Linked DNA regions of Homo sapiens: regions 1, 2, 3, 5, 6 and 7 are each linked to region 4. Evidence: promoter capture Hi-C in 16 types of primary human blood cells and fetal thymus (Javierre and others, 2016). All regions are on one chromosome and are shown on one strand. Each heading gives the region's core, a stretch centred on a gene start or on the middle of the fragment in contact. The rest is flanking DNA. Distances are from core to core; before and after follow the strand shown. Region 1 has its middle 140 kb from the start of LNCBRM. Region 2 has its middle 16 kb from the start of LNCBRM. Region 3 overlaps RMEL3 (enriched in melanoma 3). Region 4 holds the start of GAPT (GRB2 binding adaptor protein, transmembrane). Region 5 has its middle 58 kb from the start of LNCBRM. Region 6 overlaps LOC101928505 (a long non-coding RNA gene). Region 7 overlaps LNCBRM (lncRNA SMARCA2 (BRM) associated).

What was found. The method cuts DNA at HindIII sites, captures the fragments that hold promoters and counts their contacts. A CHiCAGO score of 5 or more calls a contact.
Region 1: a fragment that was not itself captured here is called in contact with the fragment with the promoter of GAPT in region 4 in 1 of 17 cell types (total CD8 T cells); the score reaches 5.3 in total CD8 T cells.
Region 2: a contact is called between a fragment that was not itself captured here and the fragment with the promoter of GAPT in region 4, in 1 of 17 cell types (naive CD8 T cells). The highest score is 5.2, in naive CD8 T cells.
Region 3: a fragment that was not itself captured here is called in contact with the fragment with the promoter of GAPT in region 4 in 2 of 17 cell types (non-activated CD4 T cells and total CD4 T cells); the score reaches 6.2 in non-activated CD4 T cells.
Region 5: a contact is called between a fragment that was not itself captured here and the fragment with the promoter of GAPT in region 4, in 1 of 17 cell types (naive CD4 T cells). The highest score is 5.4, in naive CD4 T cells.
Region 6: a fragment that was not itself captured here is called in contact with the fragment with the promoter of GAPT in region 4 in 1 of 17 cell types (naive CD4 T cells); the score reaches 6.2 in naive CD4 T cells.
Region 7: a contact is called between a fragment that was not itself captured here and the fragment with the promoter of GAPT in region 4, in 1 of 17 cell types (total CD4 T cells). The highest score is 5.1, in total CD4 T cells.

What each region holds. Positions count from the first base shown.
Region 1 is chr5:57,710,883-57,713,582 of GRCh38, reverse strand. No RefSeq gene overlaps it. Among named protein-coding and RNA genes, the nearest start is that of LNCBRM, 140 kb to the right of the region's middle. The HindIII fragment of the contact is 181 bases long and covers 1,351-1,531 here.
Region 2 is chr5:57,553,104-57,555,803 of GRCh38, reverse strand. No RefSeq gene overlaps it. Among named protein-coding and RNA genes, the nearest start is that of LNCBRM, 16 kb to the left of the region's middle. The HindIII fragment of the contact is 4,979 bases long and covers 1-2,700 here.
Region 3 is chr5:57,524,915-57,527,614 of GRCh38, reverse strand. The region is part of intron 3 of RMEL3 (enriched in melanoma 3); the gene reads right to left. Among named protein-coding and RNA genes, the nearest start is that of ACTBL2, 43 kb to the right of the region's middle. The HindIII fragment of the contact is 5,240 bases long and covers 1-2,700 here.
Region 4 is chr5:58,490,153-58,492,852 of GRCh38, reverse strand. It overlaps GAPT (GRB2 binding adaptor protein, transmembrane), which reads right to left and starts at 1,418. Exons shown (of 3, transcript NM_001304431.2): 1 at 1,312-1,418. The HindIII fragment of the contact is 6,945 bases long and covers 1-2,700 here.
Region 5 is chr5:57,626,652-57,629,351 of GRCh38, reverse strand. No RefSeq gene overlaps it. Among named protein-coding and RNA genes, the nearest start is that of LNCBRM, 58 kb to the right of the region's middle. The HindIII fragment of the contact is 1,432 bases long and covers 592-2,023 here.
Region 6 is chr5:57,667,099-57,669,798 of GRCh38, reverse strand. It overlaps LOC101928505 (a long non-coding RNA gene), which reads right to left. Exons shown (of 3, transcript NR_104668.1): 3 at 1-109. Among named protein-coding and RNA genes, the nearest start is that of LNCBRM, 98 kb to the right of the region's middle. The HindIII fragment of the contact is 221 bases long and covers 1,145-1,365 here.
Region 7 is chr5:57,590,066-57,592,765 of GRCh38, reverse strand. The region is part of intron 4 of LNCBRM (lncRNA SMARCA2 (BRM) associated); the gene reads right to left. The region is part of intron 1 of LOC124901182 (a long non-coding RNA gene); the gene reads left to right. Among named protein-coding and RNA genes, the nearest start is that of LNCBRM, 21 kb to the right of the region's middle. The HindIII fragment of the contact is 2,324 bases long and covers 275-2,598 here.

The DNA.
Region 1 (2,700 bases), core at 192-2,691, 780 kb after region 4:
CCCAAAACACGTGGGAATTCAGGATGAGATTTGGGTGGTGACACAGCCAAACCATTTTAGGCACTAAACTACTCATGAGGGCACCACCCTCATGACCTAATCATCTCCCAAGGCTCCATCTACTTACATCATCACCTCGGTGAATAGCATTCAACATATGAATTTGGAGGAGGTGGGGAACAGAAACATTCAGACTATAGCAGATAGATAGATAGATAAATAGATGATAGATAGATAGATAGTAGATAGACATAAAAAATAAATGTTTAAATAAAAAATAAATGTTAACACTTAGAGAATCTGGGTAAAGAGTATATGATCATTCTTTGTATCATACTGACAAATTTTTGTAAATCTGAAAATATGCCAAAATATTTATTTTTAAATTTGGGTTGGCTGGAAGGCAAGAACATATATGCAGAATACTACATGTGCTACCTCTCCTACCCAGAGGAACATTTTTCACAGCCCCATAGGTGCCTGCTCTGGCACCATGATTGAAATAGTGTAGGCATAGGACTAGCTGTCAGGAAATTTAGTATCAATTTGGATCCTAACCATGTTCCATGGAAAAGCTGTGTATCATCTCTGAGCTTCAGTGTTCTGATGTGAAAGGAGGCTTAAGCAAGATGATCTCTCCAAACATTAAATAGCTTTTGAAAATCTGCTATATGCTATAACTGAGATAGTTCTGCAAGCAAAGCATCTGCTCTCATGGAGATAATAGTCTAATGCAGATGGCAGATTTAAAACAAATTGTTATAGGTGTATAAAGTTCTGAAAGAGGAAAAAATATTTAAGAATATAAAACAAGGGGATCAAAGAACATACATTAAAGAGATATGAGTCTTGGGAGATCAGGGAATGCTTCCTCAGGGGAGCTGCAGTAAAGCTGCAGCCTAAATGTAGAATAGGGGTTAGCTGGTGTAGCTGGTAGAAGGCAGATAGGCAAGAGCACTCCAGGAAAAGAAACAATGTGCAAGATTTGAGGAAGGCCATTTCTTGGTATCTATGAAGAATTGAACAAAATCCAGGATATATGGACTGGAGAGAGAGTTCTCAGGCTAGAACTGCAATATTGGATAGAGAGGTGGGTAGGCAGGGAATGCCTCGTGGTGAATGCTGTCTCATGAATATTAAAACCACTTCTAAATCTATGATTCTGTTTAAAAAGGTATTTATATGTGAATATTTGACTTTAAAAAGGAATCCAAATTTCATAGGCCATTACAATATGGTTTAGCACTTAAATGTTTGGCTTATGGTAGTTACCCAGAAATATTTGTTGAATGTCAAGTATATTCATTACTCTATAGTTCTCCAGCCTAAGAGCTACCTCTGCTGAAAGCTTACTATATCACACAGGGCCTGGAAGTCATCATGAAATTACCAGCCTCTACCTTAGGGTCTGGCACAAGCAAATCTTGATGCTGACAGAGAAATCCATCAATAGTGACAGAAAGGGACACAGTCCTCAGCACAGAATGTTTGATGGCTGTGCAATTGTTTAAAGCCTGTAGTCAACCAAGCTTTGAAGTAAACATTGAATAATTGTCCCTTGGCTGGAAGACTGACGATGTCATCTAATATTTCCTGTCTGCAAATTAGAATTGCAGATTAGTTCATGGAAAGTTATATTATAATTTCTATAACTTCTCTTAAAAGAATAAATTTCACTCTCTTTGGGATTTATGTCACCTTGATTATAAGAGAAAAGCATATGTCCACATGGAAGATCAACAATAAATTCATGTTCCTATAAAATGGGGACAAAGTGGGTCAATAGCCTTAAATCAGCCAAGGCAAAGACAATTGGGCGCTATGGCGTTTTACTATGAGTCTGTGTCTGGATTCTTATCTTCTGCAGGGCCAATAAGACTGCTAACCTAATCTGCTGTTGTGCTCCAGCAAGGGAAAGTCATAGCACAAAGCCCAGTCATAGCATCTGCTTACTCACAGAAAGGCAGTGATTGTGTGCAGGGCCAGGAAGGAGGGTCTTCATGTGGATAATAGCAGGGACTTGACATTTCTGTAAACCAGCCTTGCTGGAAGTGCTTTGTATAACAACTAATATGGTGTAGTGTTAATGGGACCTAATAAACATGATGTAGAATCATCTCCCAACCCAGGGGTCTTGCCACAGTGAGAACTTATCCTTGGGTAATGAGAGAAAGAAATGTATTTCTTCCTGGCACATCTCTCCCAAGCTAAATAGGTCATAAGAAGAATCACTGTGGATCAGAATTGTGCCAGATAACCCCTGCACACCCTGTGACAGGTTGCTTTAGTTCAGCTCATAGAGAGGAAAATCTAACTTAGCTCTTGAAGACAATTTTATCAAATACCATCTCTGAATCAAAATCCATGTTTCTTAGTTTGGCATCCAAATCTCTCCATAATCTGGTTTAAGCTTCCCTTTTCAGTGCTTATGTCCTACCATCCTTTAGCCCAACTAGCTACACTCCCCAGTCCTGTTTCTCAGCACTCATATTCCATTGGTACCTTTCCCCCATCTTGACATGACCAAACTATTTCCAAGGTCCAGCACAAAAACAGTTCTTCTACAAAACATTTCCCTATGCCCATCCCTCTACATCTTCAGCTTCTGAAATCTCTTAGCTCTTTTCATTGTGCCCCTAATTTTGATTATTCTATTTTATGTCCAGATGTTGGAGTGTCATTTCTTCATTTAATTATCAC
Region 2 (2,700 bases), core at 26-2,525, 940 kb after region 4:
TGGTTAAGAATCTTGAATGGAGAATATGTGCCACATTTTCTTAATCCAGTCTATCACTGATGGACATTTGGGTTGGCATTAGGAGAAACACCTAATGTAAATGATGAGTTAATGGGTGCAGCAAACAAACACGGCACATGTATACATATGTAACAAACCTGCACATTGTGCACATGTACCCTACAACTTAAAGTATAATAAAAACAAAATCTTGAATGGAAAGATTCTCCTGATTATTTTAGTGGGTCCAATGTAATCACAAGAGAGAGGTAAGAGAGTCAAAGTCAAAAAAGGAGATGTGCCCATGAAACTGAGTTAAAGAGATGCATCTTGAAGATGAAGGAAGGGGCAGTGAGCCCAGAAAGGCAGACAGACTCTAGAAGCTGGCATAGGTGAGAAAACAGATTTTCCTTAGAAGCCTCTGGAAGAAATGCAGCATTGCCAACACCTTGATTGTAGACTTCTAACCTCCAGAACTATAAGGAAATAACTCTGTGCTGATTTTAGCCATTAAGTCTGTGGTAATTTGTTACAGCAGCAAAAGGAAACTAATACTCCTCCCCTGCCTCCATCATCCAAGGAGCCGACACCAGCAAACCATGTTTCCCACACCTCCTTGCCACTTGCCTTCAGTTCTGCTCAGCAATGCTTCTGGCTGACCTGTGATGAGTGGGAACGCCAGGGTGGGGTATGCTCCCTCCAGCCATCCTAAGGGAAGGGTTTACCCAAAGTCTAACTCCTATCCTGGTGTATTAGTTTGCTAGGGCTGCCATAACAAGTGCTGGAAAGACACTGGAGGCTGGAAGGAAGACAGAAGCAAGGGTGCTAGTTCCCCTCTCCTGCTCTGGACCATGCCCAGCAGTTGTTATATCTCTTCAGTGGTCTCAATTCCTATCCTTATTACCCAAGATCGCAGGCTCTAGAAACACTACCACCTCCCTTTCTCCCATCGACCCCATCTTTGAGTGGTTATAGCTCTTCTAATAACACCTTTATTATGAATTTAGCATATTAAACTCCTCCTATTAAAGTACCTGACGAGGGCTATGTTTTCTCAGCTGCGTCCCTTTAAGGCCCAGCCATATGTCTAAGGTTGGCTTCTTCTTATTACCTATAGTAGTGTTGCTTATTCACAGTGGTTAAGATGGGTGCTATATTTAAAATCCTCTCCCACACCTTTAGATCCCCTGGCAGAGTAACATTAATGGCTTTCCGGGGGATTGGCAGCATTTTCCCTTCTTCATGCCCAGCTTCTGTCACCATAACGAACAGGATAACTCCTCACGATAGTAGTTAAGTTGTAATTTTATTAGTTTATGCAAACTGGTATAATTCAGGTGTGGAGCAGTCAGATTTTTTTCCGTGCTCTAGTGACCTAGAAAAATTAGAGTGACAATATCATGAGGAATTCTTTTTTTTTTTTTTAGTCAGCCTAAATTTCACTGGGAAATCAGAAAACACATTTTTTGATGTGTGAAATGAAAGCTCATTCTCCTCAATTTTACTTAGTTTTCTTTCTGTAGTTGAGGTAAATAGGCAAGACTGTATTTCAGACATCACTAAATGAGAACATCATTTGAAACAACTCCATAGACTATTCCTTCTTCAGTTTTATTTGCCCAGGTCTGGGGAGTAGTGGTCTTTTCAGTCATAACACTGGCCCCTGTAAGTAGAATCTCAAGGTTTAACTCCTTTCCTGGTGTATTAGTTTGCTAGGGCCGCCGTAACAAGGTACCACAAATTGGGTGGCTTACGCAACAGAAAATTATTCTCTCACCCTTCTAGAAGCTAGAAATTCAAAATCGAGGTGACACCAGGGTTTGTTCTTTCTGAGGGCTGTGAGGAAGAATCTATTCTATGCCTCTCCCCTATCTTCTCATTGTGTGCTGGTCTTGGTGTTCCTTGGCTTATAGAGGCATCACTCCAGTTTCTGTCTGCCTTGATCTTCACATGGTATTCTCCCTGTGTGCCTGCATCCAAGTTTTCTCCAATCATAAATATAACGTACGTATTGGATTAAGGCCCACCCTAATGACCTCATTTTAACTTGACTACTTCAGTAAAGACCCTATCTCCAAATAAGGTCACATTCTGACGTATTGGGGAATATGTCTTCAAAATATGAATTTGACAGAAGGGACACAATTCAACCCATAGCATCTGATCTCCAAGGAAAGCCTTTTGGTATTCATGTCTTTAATTCAGGTAGACTGGGTTTATGTGCCTTCTACTTTTAATGTATTCACAGGTTTCTCTATGTCAGTGCCAAACACAAAACTCATTTGACCCAAAGGCCTTTTTCTCTATTTTTAATGTTCTTTTCACTGAGAATTGGAAGATTAACTTTAGGAAACTTTCCCCTTTAATCTTGAACATACTAAAGCAGACTGAGGATACTGTCCTAGATTCCATTTATTATTATTTGCAAATTAAGAATCACAATGAACGGGTAATATCGAGTTGTGTATTCCTATTAGTCAAGTCCTTTGAAGTCAGAACAATGGTAAAATATTTTCAGGCTATGTGACAGGAGTAAGAATAGGTGAAACACTGCAGACCCAGGAAGACATCCAGTCATTACACACTGCTAATGCAGAACTAGAACCACTCTGATGGATGTTCCTCTTCTTTTCCCCAAAACCCCTTAATTAATAAATTAATTAAGAAATTAATTTATTAAGTTCTTAAAAAACGTGTTTT
Region 3 (2,700 bases), core at 95-2,594, 970 kb after region 4:
GGAAAAAATAATGCCATTTAAACAAGAATCAAGAAAGGAAATTTGAAAAGTAAATTCAGAGAGTGAAAGCAAACACTTTCAGAGTCAAAGATAATACCAAGAAGACAAAAAGATAACATCAAAATAAACTCTAAGAGTGGTCTATTATGATATTCTGTATTGTCCAACAGTTCTAGAATTGCCATTTAGTATTTTCATATTCAGAAAGGGAATGTAATTCAATGTAAAGATAGTCTTAACAAAAGACTAGGGTGCCAGAAAGTAAAAAGAAAGCTACGAACTAAAAATTCAAATTAAATCATTACCCCAGATTTGTTGTTTGATGACAGTCTATTTCTATTACAGACTTTTTGCATAAAGGAAAACTGTGGCTTTGGAAAACATTTTAGAAAACATCCAGTTTATCCTTCAGTTATTAGAGAAGTTTCTCAAGTGCAGAGAACTTGTGCCATCACAAAGGGCAGTTAGCAAGAGAGAGTGCAACACAAGAAGAGAATCAGGACCAGTATCAGAACTAGAATCAAAAGTGTGCTCTTAACCCTAACCATTCTAGGAAGAAGGCTTTCATCAATGTCCTAGGTAGAAGAGATTGGTGGTTCATGCCAGAATGACCTTTTACATCAGTGGTTTTTAAATTTTGAGCTAAAGAACTCTTCCAACCAAACCTCATTTACAGGCCCAGTATAAACAGACAAAAGAGGATCTAATCTACTATGGAAAAGAGCCATGAAATCCACCTTTTCAGGTCTCCCTCAGCCCATAAAGCCACTCAGTTGGACATGGTGGTACATGGTATGAAAACCAATGGCTTTAAATCATACTCATATATTAGGATTTAAATTTGCTGTATGGGGAGATTAAATGTACATTTAAAATGTGTATATATATATAGTATTTACATAAATACACATGTAAATATATTGCATTCGTCCATTTTGCATTTCTATACAGGAATACCTGAGACTGGGAAATTTATAAAGAAAAGAGGCTTATCTGGCTCACTGTTGTGCAGGCTGTACAGACAGCATAGTTCCAGCATCTGCTTCTCATGAGGCCTCAGGAAGTGTTCACTCATGGTGGAAGGTGAAGGAGAAGCAAGTGTGTCATATGCTAAGAGAGGGAGCAAGAGAGAAGGGGAGAGGAGGTTCCAGGCTCTCTTGAAACAACCAGCTCTTGTGTGAACTAATAAAGCAATAACTCAGTTATTACTACAGGGAAGGCACCAAGCCCTTCCTGAAGGATCTGTCCGCATGACCCAAACACCTCCCCGTAGCCCCACCTCCAACACTGGGGATCATATTTCAACATGAAATTTGTAGGGAACAAATATCCAAATCATATCGTATATCTCTTTAATACATAAAAATGAATTTACATTAACTTTTCAATAAAGCTGGTGTCTGTCTGAGGTCCAGAGTTTATTGAGGACCATCTGAATCTGGTGAGAGTTTCCACCTTTGGAGTCACTGTCCTGATGGGTACACCAGGCTTAGGATCACACAAAGCAGGTGCCTAATACAGCCCAGCTCCATATGTGTTGACTACATAACACCTGTCTTCTATTTAAAGACATTCCTTGGAAAGCATATTCAGGAATAGTCTATAAAATCCAATGACTAGGTTATCCGAAAGTCTGAGAATAGCTTTGGTAAAGTAAATTACTTTGGTAAAGGAAGCAGAAGTAGGGCTAAAAAAAAGGCCAAAGTAAATCTAAAACTAGAACACAGTCTTTTGCCTAAGTACAATGTACATTAATAGTTTATGGTTCTCTGGACTGTTTTGTTTTTGTTCTTTTTCATTTATTTGTCTTGCTCTTGCTTTTTTTTACCTAGATATTTGCCATTTAGAAATCTTTATCAAACTATCCACAATGACATCTATGTATGTGATGTCCTCTGGGTCATTGGAGTACACAGCCCACTGACATGTACTACACAGAGCTGCACTGAGATTACTATGAGGTGGGGAGCAGAGGGTGAGATATGATCTGCGACAGACTCTAGAATAAATAAGCCCCAAGTTTCCACCTTATCTCAACTGTAATGAATGCATAATGGAAATGAAATCATAGCTATGTATCCATTTCATTTGACATTTTTTATGGGTTAAGGAAAATAAGAAGAGCAGACTCAGATCAGCACTTTCCCGGCAGACAAGTCAGAAAAAAAATGAGCTAGTTAGTTGTGCTTTATGGATCAATTCTTAAAACAAATGGAAGGGTTCACTCCACGCATTCATCCATTTAGACTTATAAATAAAAACTAAGTGAGAAGCATTCAGTCACTCTTCAGAAGGCTTTGCTTGAGAACTGAGGGATGTGCCTCTCAAACTCCCTAACCCTCCCGTTCTCTTCAACAGTAAACCAGGCTGTCTTTTACCACCAAGATTCTGAGACCCAGAAACAAAGACACAACAAGCCAGAGTTCTCTGAATTTTAAGGAACTGGAAATTAACAGGGTGAGGCTTGGAAAGAGGAGCTCTTCCTTCTCTTTCTAATGAAATCCCTCAGAGAGAAACCCCCTTTCCATTTGAATGAAAACCAGAAATGGCAGAGATTATATTAAAAAAAATTTTTTAAAACATTGTCTTCAGTTGCTGTGAAATGAGAGATTATTTTCAAATTTCCTAGGAATAAATTTCACCAGCTGGGTAAACTTTGTAGTTCAGAGGTCTCGCAGGCAATTGCTGGCTCCCATCCAA
Region 4 (2,700 bases), core at 169-2,668:
AATCTATTAGACATTTGTTAATGAATGAAGTAATCTCCTTATGGGATAATAATAGTAACAATGAGAAGAAAAATAGAAATTCACAAAGTGGTGCTCTGCTTTCAGTGAGTTTTCATGAAAAGTTTAATGGTAATGAACGTTCATAAATTTGTCCAAGGTTAGAATATATTAATATGCAAATATTTAATTTGACATTTCATAAAAGAAAATTAAATAAGATGTGCAGCTAATTTATACAATTTTTTGATAAAAATACAGGGACAAGCACCCCAGATGCAGAAACATTTTAATCTCCTTGGAATTTTTGGGAGTAATATTGAGGTTGAGAACTGTATGGTCCGCCACATAAGATTTACAATCTGCAGGGTCCCTCCTTTATAAGGCCAGCCGTGCTTGTGTTCAAGGACAAAAGTTTAGCCAAATGACTTTAATCATTAGGACCTCATTTCCTGTCTGAAACAGATGAGCACCAATTATCTGCAAGATATTTTATGGTATACATGGTTAATGATTTAAGAAGTTATTTGCCAGAATATTTGAAATAAATTTACAAAATACACTTTAAGTATTGATTGAAATTAATCAACTTTTTGAAAGATACTAGGCCTGCAACAGAAGTCACGGTGAGGGTTGAGGAAGGCTAACTATTGTCACTTCTGTAGCTGAGGATAAGGCAATAAATTACTCTCTTAATTTTTAAGAAGAAAAGGCATTTTTACCATCTATGTTATTCTATGTAGAGTAGAAATTCTGGTACATCCAAAATATTAAAATTGTTTGTCTAAGAGATATTTACCAAGATAAAGACAAGAAGACTTTTTACAGAAAAAGAAATGCATCATTTTCTTCGAAATAACATTAGAGGAAAAAACCTGTGAGACATGAACAAAGACCTACTATAATGAAAAACATATTTTAAACAATAACCATTCAAATATAGTTTAACACTTAAATAATGTTCACTTTGACCAGTTTGAAAGAAGACTCTGTTTTCATTTTGGAAAGCAGTTCCAACAGGTTACCTAACAATTTGACATTTTTCTTAAAATCGCAAATTGTTGAGAAACTTCAGGAATTTTCAAGTAAGAGAATGCCCTGCTGTTTGGAAACAAGGTAACAGCAAAGCATAATCATATTGTAAAGAAACATTAACATCACTCTCAGTTTGTAAATTGGGTTTCCCCCTTACAGCTACGTAAGGCATTTTTTTCTAAAAACTGTAGTAAGATAAAAATCATTGATTAATTAAAGACAAACTTGTTTCTTATAGTGTTTAATCATCCAAATACCTTAAATCAGGTTCTTACTTACCTCAAGATTGGTGTGTCAAGCTCTCTCTTTTGTTCTTTTGGTTATGTTTTAAACCTGCATTGGGTTAGAACTTGTTCCTCTTTTTCACTTTGGTGGGTTACTTCCTTCTTTCCCTCCTTCGTTCACGCTATTTAATACTTGCAAAGTTTCCTGGCTCTAGAGGAAGTCAGTATCAGATGCAGCAGAATTAAGATAAATGGCGTGAGGTTTTGAATAAGGAAGTCTGGCCCTTCATCTTTGTCAAGTAATAGTTTTTTAACTGTGTCAGAAAATAATACGTAAAGCCTACATGGTTTTTTATTTGGGCCATATTTGCAGTTCCCACTTTAATATCAATAAAAGTCACTTCACTTGTACTTTGATTTTTTAAAAAAAGAAATATTTTAATTGTAGTAACACATAGGTCTTGGGCTTTTATTATTATTATTATTATTTACTTGTGTTGCTAGACCAGTCCTCTCTTCAAATATTAATATTATGTACCAATGCTCCCAAGTTATAGCCATACAGGTCAAATCAGTGTCCCAATTTGGGTTTGGAAAATGTTAACGTTCTTTTAAATTTATAAATAGGAATTTCCTAAGGTATGTTTTGAGGCCCATTACCCCTGAGATATGCTAGCAGCTCTTCCATCAAGTAAATGTGGGGAATACTGCTTCCCTGGAGATTCATGGGTACATCAGCATGCTAAAGGCTCTCAGCAGTCTTACAGCCAGCAAACAAAATAAAACCAAATAAGAAAAAGAAATTGTTTAACTTTGCTTAATAATAGTAGTCAGTATGTTCCTAGCACTAAGTACTCCAAACCTTTTGTGTAATACTCAGCAAATCTTGGCAACAACCCTGTGAGGGAGAAAAACTGTTATTAGTCCTATTTTACAGAAGAGGAAACAGAAGCACACAGAATGATCACTTGCCCGACAGAGCCTGCAGTTTGCCCCCAGCACCTGTGTGCTAAACCACTGCACTGGCTGCCTTGCTAGATTGAGTAACATGTTTCCCACATAGATACGCTTACCAAGAGCATCTCTTGGAGTCCAACTCATGGGAACACACACAGTGGGAGATGCTGAATTAGACAAATTACAGATGAATTCGACAGATGAGATGACAAAGTAATGGAAAATTTGTCTTTTAAGTTGTCTTGGAACTTTTTGAACCACAGAGGATTAACTTTGCATAAGGTGGTTTTAAAAAAGAGGATTTAGTTACTGAAATAACTACTGGACATTGGAAGGACAGGACGTATTATTAACACTTGCTGAGCACTGACATTATGCCAGGCATTGTGCTAAGAGATGAGGATGCAAGAGTGAATAAGCTCCCTGCAGCACTTAAAGCCAAGTAGAGAGGCTGCTGCGCCCACAGAACATTTCAGATCAAAGTGAT
Region 5 (2,700 bases), core at 58-2,557, 860 kb after region 4:
CCTGAAATGAAAAAGAGCAGAAGTTAATTATCAGTAGCAGTCAGCCGTTCTAACATATGTCGGCATTTGAACTTCATTTCTCGGATCCCTTATTATTATAGCCAATAAGCCATAATTAACAAGCCTTTAAAATCTGAACCAACATTAAAATGAAAAAACATTGATGGCACAGATAAAATTAATATATTGTTTCATGATGAATGTAGTACATTAAGATGATTAAAAAATTTTAAACATGGGCTCAATGAGAGAAAATTAATAGAAGGTATTGCTGGCGATGAATTGGTTGAAAAACCTTACCTAGTTTAATACATTTCTTTCATTCACAGGGGAACTGGTATTTTCATAGAGGAGTAGTAAATTGCTTAGATTTATGCAAGTAAGTGGCAGAGCTAGAAACCAGCTCTTACTCAAGGTATGTACCTCTCAACCATGTTATATCTTCTTTGACAACATAGAAATATGGTGTGTGCAGCCACATTCTAAATGTTCTGACTTTCTAACTCATATAAATCCAGCTGCCTGCTTCATTTGAAATTCACACAGGATCTCAAACTTAATAGACTTGAAACTTAACTCAGCCCCCAAGCTTACTTCTTGCCCATTTTCCTCAAGTCATTAAATAAGCATTCCCTAGATTCTCAAGACAGAAATTTGACGGTTCAGAATGATTTATTCCCCTGCTTTAATACTAATATTCAATCACTGACAAGTCCTAACATTTCTTCCCCCAAAACATATTTTGATTCCATCTGCTTCTCTCCATCTTCGCTCCCACCACAATAACTCAGGTAACTAACAGCTCCTGTCTAGGAGACCACCACAGCATCCTACCTGGTTTCCATTCTTCTCCCTTCCCACCTCTACCACCCATCTATTTTCCTTACAGTAGAGTGGTCTTTAAAATATGAACCTGGGAATACAACTTCCTTGCTTAAAAATCTTTGAGTATCACCTTTTTACACCTTGGTTTCTTGTGCGCTACTGACACTTTAGACCAGCTAATTCTTTGCTGTTGGGGGTGGCTATCCTGTGCATTGGAAGATACTTAGCAGCATCCCCGGTTTCTCATCACCAGATGCCAGTAGCATCCCCACATAAACAGTGGCGAAAATAAAAAATGTCTCAGGCCTGGACAAATGTCCCATGCAGGGCAAAATCACCCCTGGTTGAGGACCACAGGTTTTCTCATATGACAAATTTAAACTTTCACATTTAAAGTCCTTTTAACTGCTACTGACTACAAACCTCTAAGGAAGATCTCAAAAAATACTAGTTGAAGTCCAGTCAAATGACTGAATTGGCCAGTAAAGAGAAAACTGTCTATCTATAGACTAAAAAAATATGTCAACAAGAGTTATTGACAAATTCAACATGACTCAATCTAAAGCTGTGGTTAAGGACAAAGGAGGTAAAAGTCGTCAATGCCACATTAACAAAGCAAGCAGAAGAACAGCTCTCAGTGTACATCTCATTAGGAAGAAACAGAGAGACCTTTCTCAGGATGACCTTCAATCTTCTCATGCTAAGTCCTTTAAATGTTTCTCAAAGTTTCCTCAGACACCCTTCTCATTATACTCAGGCCCTAGGTTGCCTCGTTTACTTCAATACTCTCAATAACTATCTAGTGCTGATTAATCTCAATTTCATATTTTCAGCTCAGATCTCTTTCCTGAACTGAAAGTATATGGCTACACTTTCCAGCTGGGCACCCCACTTGTATAGATGCCTCAGATCCACATATCTAGGACAACACTCAAGCCAGAGGCATTTTCAAATTTAAGTCATAATAGCAAAGAAATTGGGGTGGAGCTGTGCTAAGATCATAGTGGTAACCATGCAGGAGGAGATAAGTGAGATTTTATAAACCCAATGTCCATGAACATCAGAGTATATTCATGACCTGCCTTCATAATTTCATGGGTTCATAATGCATGGGTGATTGGCCTGATAATAAAGACCAGATATGAAATGGACAAGAATCATGTTTAGAAAGGTTGAAGTTATCCTTGAGTGAAAAGCTTTCCATTTCATTTATTTAAAGAAAAAAAAAATCAGGAAATGGACCTTAAAAAATTATACATAAAAACAAATGGTACATTTTAACATATTTGTTATCAAACACATCATATTCCCACTTATGGCTCCAGGTAGTTAATAACTTTGCATGTAGTGATGCCAAGTCCCATTCAAGTCCCATTCAAGTCAGACCACCCATTCTCACCCAAAGACAGTGTAGTCTTAGACCTCTGCTCTGACAACATGTATTTCTTGCCAAGTGGGCCCTGTATTCACGTTCTAGTATATCTTGGCCTTGGCACCTGGATTGGTGGGAGCTATAATGAGAAGCAGTGTGTCCTGACATTAATATACCCTGAAGCAGTCTGTTCCAAATGAGGCAGCTCTGCAAGGCCCAGTGACCATCACAGAAAGTGCTGACACAGGATTTTCTTTAAAATTGGCCCAAGCAGTAATATAAGTCATTCCCAGAGGAGTTGGCTGTGTGGTTTACATTGGCTTCCATAGCATTCCTGTGATACCCAGGTTCTATTTCATCAGCAGTGGAGCTGTGGTGGCAAAATTCTAACAGATTGTCTTCTGAAAAAAAGCCTCTATTTTACTGCTTAAGAGAAATGCTTTGAAAAATTACAATGCATTTTTCACCAATCTCCTTTGAGTTCTATATTTTCACAACTTAGT
Region 6 (2,700 bases), core at 6-2,505, 820 kb after region 4:
TATAAATTATCCAGTCTCAGGTAGTATTTTTACATCAGGATGAGAATGAACACAAAGAATCTTCACCTTCAAAGCTACCTTAGTCTGCAAATGACTGCCAAGAAGTCATCTGGAAATAGGCAGAAAGAATCAGTGAGAATTATAATGATTTATGAATTTTTCCACTTTAAGCACCTAAATATGTACATATGAATCAAAGGACATATGTGATGTTATTGAATCCAGTAGTCCCTAACCTTGCGGTCACCAAGAAGCCTTCTTATTTTTCAGCAGTGCACTCTGTGTCAAAGATTTGTTTACTGAAGCAAATAACTATGAATTACTGAGGGCTTACTTTGTACCTGGTATTATAATAAGCATTTTACATACAGAATCTCATCTGATATTTTTTAAAAACTATAGGACAGGGACTATCAGTCACTATTTTATATATGAAGAAACTGAAGGCAGCTAAGGTCGAGTGATATAAGATCACAAAGCCAGTGGAATTGATATTATTGAATCTAGTATCTATGATCTGCTCATTTAAGTAAATATAGATTTCCAATAATAAATAATTTCTGGGGCAAATATTTGCTTAATTGCCTATACATGCACAGGATATATACATAGTCTCTGGAACTGAATTTTTATTAGTCCAACTTTGTCAAGGGAGTGAGACATAGAACAGAATGCATGGCTATTTCTATTTAGATGAAGCAAAGACTATATTTCACAGAGCATATGTCTTCGCTATTCTAGATTATTTGCTCATTCTTTAAATAGAAAATCTTCAAGAAACCAGCAAACTGAGATACCAAGAAGATAGTAAATTTAAAGGGACTATTAACTGAAGATCACCTAACATCATCATCTTTTTTGTGTGAAGTCTGCTCTGAAATGTGATTCAGGAGCAAGAAGATGCCAGTTATAGATTGCCTAGAATACCGAGTTAACCTAAAGAGAACTTTGGAAGGTGTTTCAGTTAACAGGGGATTTAGCAGTGACAGCTGAAAAGAAATTAACAGCACCAAATTTCAAGACATAAAACTCTTCAATTTATTTCTGGCAACATTTCTAAAACTCACAGTAACTATTTTACTTGGGTATTATCAGGTGAAATTTGTGGCTTTCTTCAGGAGCTAGTCACCCATTTACAAAAGCTTATAATCTTTAAGCTACTACTGACCTATCAATTATAGAGAATTTGGATGCTAAACATGGCATTTGAGCAAGCCAGCAGAACCTGTGATTCAGGTTTCTGCTCTCTGACCTCTAGGATTAGTGTTCTGAGGATTACACTATAATATCTTTAGTTTTTACAGCACCTTTTTCCAGAGTAAGGGGCAAGAATTTTTCTCTTTATTTTTCCAGAGAAGCAAAGCTTCTGAGGAAAAGCTTAGCCCTCTACAGCTGGTAAATATTTTCCAGTGAGGGGAGCAGCCGGCCATGGCAATAACCAGAGTTCTAGTCGTGTCTCTGGCCCATGCCTCTCTATAACTGGAGACTAGTCCCCCAGTTTTCTCCATTTCTGCAGCTGTAAAAAAGGATTATGACTAGCTGTCAAACAGGGCAGGCCTCTAACATTTATGGGTCCTAGGATATAAATATAAATAGACACTTTCAAATGCTCTGTTTTTCCTACCCTCCCTCACTGTCCTACATATGAGGGGTGTCATGTGGATACTTGTGGGTATAGTCAGGTATGAATATACCCATCCTCTCAAATAGCTGCCCCTCAGCCAACCCTGTGGCCTAGGGTTGAAAGCTCAGGGCTTCCTGGGGTCTCACATGCTGAAAGTGGAGCTGGGAGAGATGCAGACCCTGGATGGGGGCATCCCTTTTGCCATTCAGACTCCTCCCCGCTTGACGAATGGCAAAGCTAGAGGAAGAATAGAATGGACCCCTCTGAAGTGCAGGACCCTGGGCAAGAATCCAATTGCCCAGGTCTGAGGTGTCATGAACACTGATGAGAGACTGAGAAAGCAGAGAAGTGATTTGGGGAATAGGGAAGAAAAACAACAGGTCCTCTCCCCAACCAGTTAAAGATCAAACAGAAAAGTAAAACATTCATATGCATACAGTATGGGGCAAATGAAAAACCTACGTTTTATCTCTATCTTTACAGGGTTTCTTTTTCCAGAAGATGCATGTTTGGAATTCTGCAAGAACTCCTGATCACTTTAAAATGCCAATGCCTTTATTTTCAAGATGTACAGTTTCTGTCTTTTATCAAATAGAGGAACAAAATCTATTCTTCCAAAAAAAGGAAAAATGCACAATATCCAAATAAATTTTCCCCAGCTGCTTGCTGGATATTGGAATTAGATAACATGACATAAGAAGAATTTTGGTCTAATCCTAAGAAGGGAGTATGGTTGGTTCTCCTTTTCACTTAACATCTTAATCTCTTCCCCCGCTTTAAAAAGGAAGATCTATTTAATATCAAAATAACATGATGGTTTATGATGTTGGAGCTGAGAGACACAAGAGGCTGATTCAGTAAGTAAAGGTAATCAAGTAGTGGTTAGTAGCAAAAAAAAAAAAATTGACAAAGAGAAGGTAGAGCTCTCATCTGCCTTTGAGGCAGGAGGAAAAAATATTTCCTAGGCATAACAAGAAATGCATGGTAAGAAAATTCACTTCCTAATCCCAATGTCTATGGTGTCCATATTTCCACATCCCAAAACCTGGACAAACTGATACATGGTCCAAAAAATG
Region 7 (2,700 bases), core at 187-2,686, 900 kb after region 4:
TCCAGCAGGTATTTACACTCCAAAGACAATAGCCCCTTACTGGACTTCATTTCCTCCCTCTTTCACCCAAGCCTCCAGTCTTTTATGTTTGCCCCTCACAGCTATATATGCCTAAGACTTTATAAAGGGTGGCCTCCAGACCAGTGACTCTCAATCCTAGCTTCCACTTTAGAATCTGCTGGTAAACTTTAACAATACTGAGACTTGGCCCCATACCAGCATATATGAACCAGAATCCTGACAATGGGGTCTTGACGTGATTTTTTTATAAGCTTCCAGATGACTCTACTGTGAGTCAAGGTTGGAAGACACTGGATTTGACAGGTCAGTTTTCATTGCAACCTCAACGTCAGCTGAAATCGTCCCACCCTAGATAATCTAGATAAGATTTTCTGAAACCCCATTCACAACTTGTGGAAAGTCCAATGCCCTTGCCAAGATTTCTGTAAATTTGCTAGGGCACTTGTGGTTCTCTGGTAGGGTGGCCAGATGTAGTAAATAAAAATACAGGACATCTAGTTAAATTTGAAAAAATAGTTTGACAGAGGAGTTTTGCCTTTCATTGGGAAAAGGCTGAATCTAAGATGTTTAGGGCGTCCTGACAAAGTCAACACATGCTTCAGGACAAAAAACATAAAATACAAGGGCATGGTCTGTATACACAGGATGCTGGAAACCTTGTAATCCATGTATACCCTCAATCCAAGCTCTTTCTCTCATTGAATTGGTTTGATCTACTTGCAGTCCTACATGTTTTGTGATGGTTCTGCATATATGAATTTAGATGTACATCTTATTTCTTGTCCAAAAAAGCAATACAATGCCTTTGTGGATGAAGCTGACTTTGCTAAAGGTCTGAGGAGGAAAAAAGTGTTAATACTGCAGCAACACAAACAACCAAAGATGAAACATAAAGCACGATGTCCAATATGGTTGTTGTCATGTCACTATATTGTTTAGTCTTTTCCTCTTCCTCTTCCTCTTCCTCTTCTCTCCTCTCCTCTTTGCTCTGTTCTTCCCCAGACTCAAATTCCCATTCTTTTCTAATGGAGAGTGATTTAGCAATCTCTCTAGTTTCCTTGTCTCCTTCTCTCTGAAATGCCTTTACCAGTTTATGGTCCTAAACAAAGATAGGCCCTTCTTTATCAGGGATTCTACTGCCACCCAGAAAGACATTTATTTTTCACCGAGTTTCATGATTATGTTAATATTTTCTATGTCAACAAATACTAATTTTGAGTCTTCTGAGTTTGAAGGACTGTTTCTGCACTTCCGGTTTTCAATAAGGGAGAGTTCCTTCTGCTTTACAATCAACACCGGCCTCCTTGAGTGGACTGATTTGAGCTAGAAAAACTCAATTGCCTAAAACTACACAGTCCATTAGCCTTACTTAGTAGCTGGAATTTACAATGCTACTAAGTCAGCCATTGCGTTTAATGCAGTTTTCCAACATATGCTAATTATTACAATTACCTGCGCCTGTTAATAGTATAGTTTCCTATTCCCAGCTCAGGCTTAGAGAATCAGAACCATGATGGGGGTGATTTCAATGATTAGCCAAGTTTAGGAAACACTGGTCTAAGCACTTGAAGGCCCAGTTAAAATGCAAATAAAGGCATTTTCAATATGGAAAGATTAACATAAACTGGTTCAACGGAGGCGTCCTGGCGTGAAGATCCAGCATGGCAATTCACCTTATATCTCCAAGACTAATTCTCATCTGTTCAGTGGCTGGGCTAGAATAATCTCTGATGTTTCTTCCAACTCTAGTATCCCATGATTCTACACCCACTAGATCCTTATAATTAGGCTTCTAGGCTATAGTCCAGGGGACTAATATATGGGGAGGGAATAATGCCAGAAAGAGACAAATTTTAAGAAGCCAAGGAGTGAGAAGGGAAGTAAAGTCTTGGAAAAGATACTCTAAGCTGGGGGGATCCCAGATTTTTTAGAACTTAGAGTTCAGTGGGAACACAAAAACAACAGGTGCTTGAGGGAGCGAGCAGTGACTAAGAGGACAGAAGAGCATCCCCAGGGCACTTGATTACTGAACTTTAGGATAATCTTATGCAGAGCCACCTCTTTTTCTCTTCATATAGAAATTAACAGTCAGATGTCCTCAATATTCCTGAGGGGTAGGCCAGCCTACTGCACTAATAATTGTAGCACAGGTGTAAAATAAAATCAAATAAAAAATAAAATAAAATAAGATAAAATAAGCTGTGTGATCTTACTAAAATACTAATGGAATAAGCTCTTTCCTTATCCAACATACCCCAACATTCTGCTCAGCACACACGCAATCAAAGTGTGCTGACCCAGACATTGGTTAAATTTAACCAGTGTGTACACGCAGTTTCCACTCAGGTGCAACATTTAGAAAATAATCTGCATTTTGTTAGATGTGCCATGGAAGAGAAGTGTCAGAGTCAGGATTAGGGATTCATGAAGGGCAGAGAGAGGGAAAGGGCAGTTTAGATGACATTTACCCTTTTAAAAACAGCCGCTCATCACCCAGGTGGAGGGACCCCCGTAGTTACTCCATTACTTAGAAATGATTTGATGTCTGAACAATTTTTGAATTCAGATATGAAAGCTTCAAATCATTCATGCAAAACAAAAAGATAACATATGTCCACTTATACTCATTGTTTACATAAAACTAGCATAGAAGAAAATCTAAAATGGTGATAGAAGTTT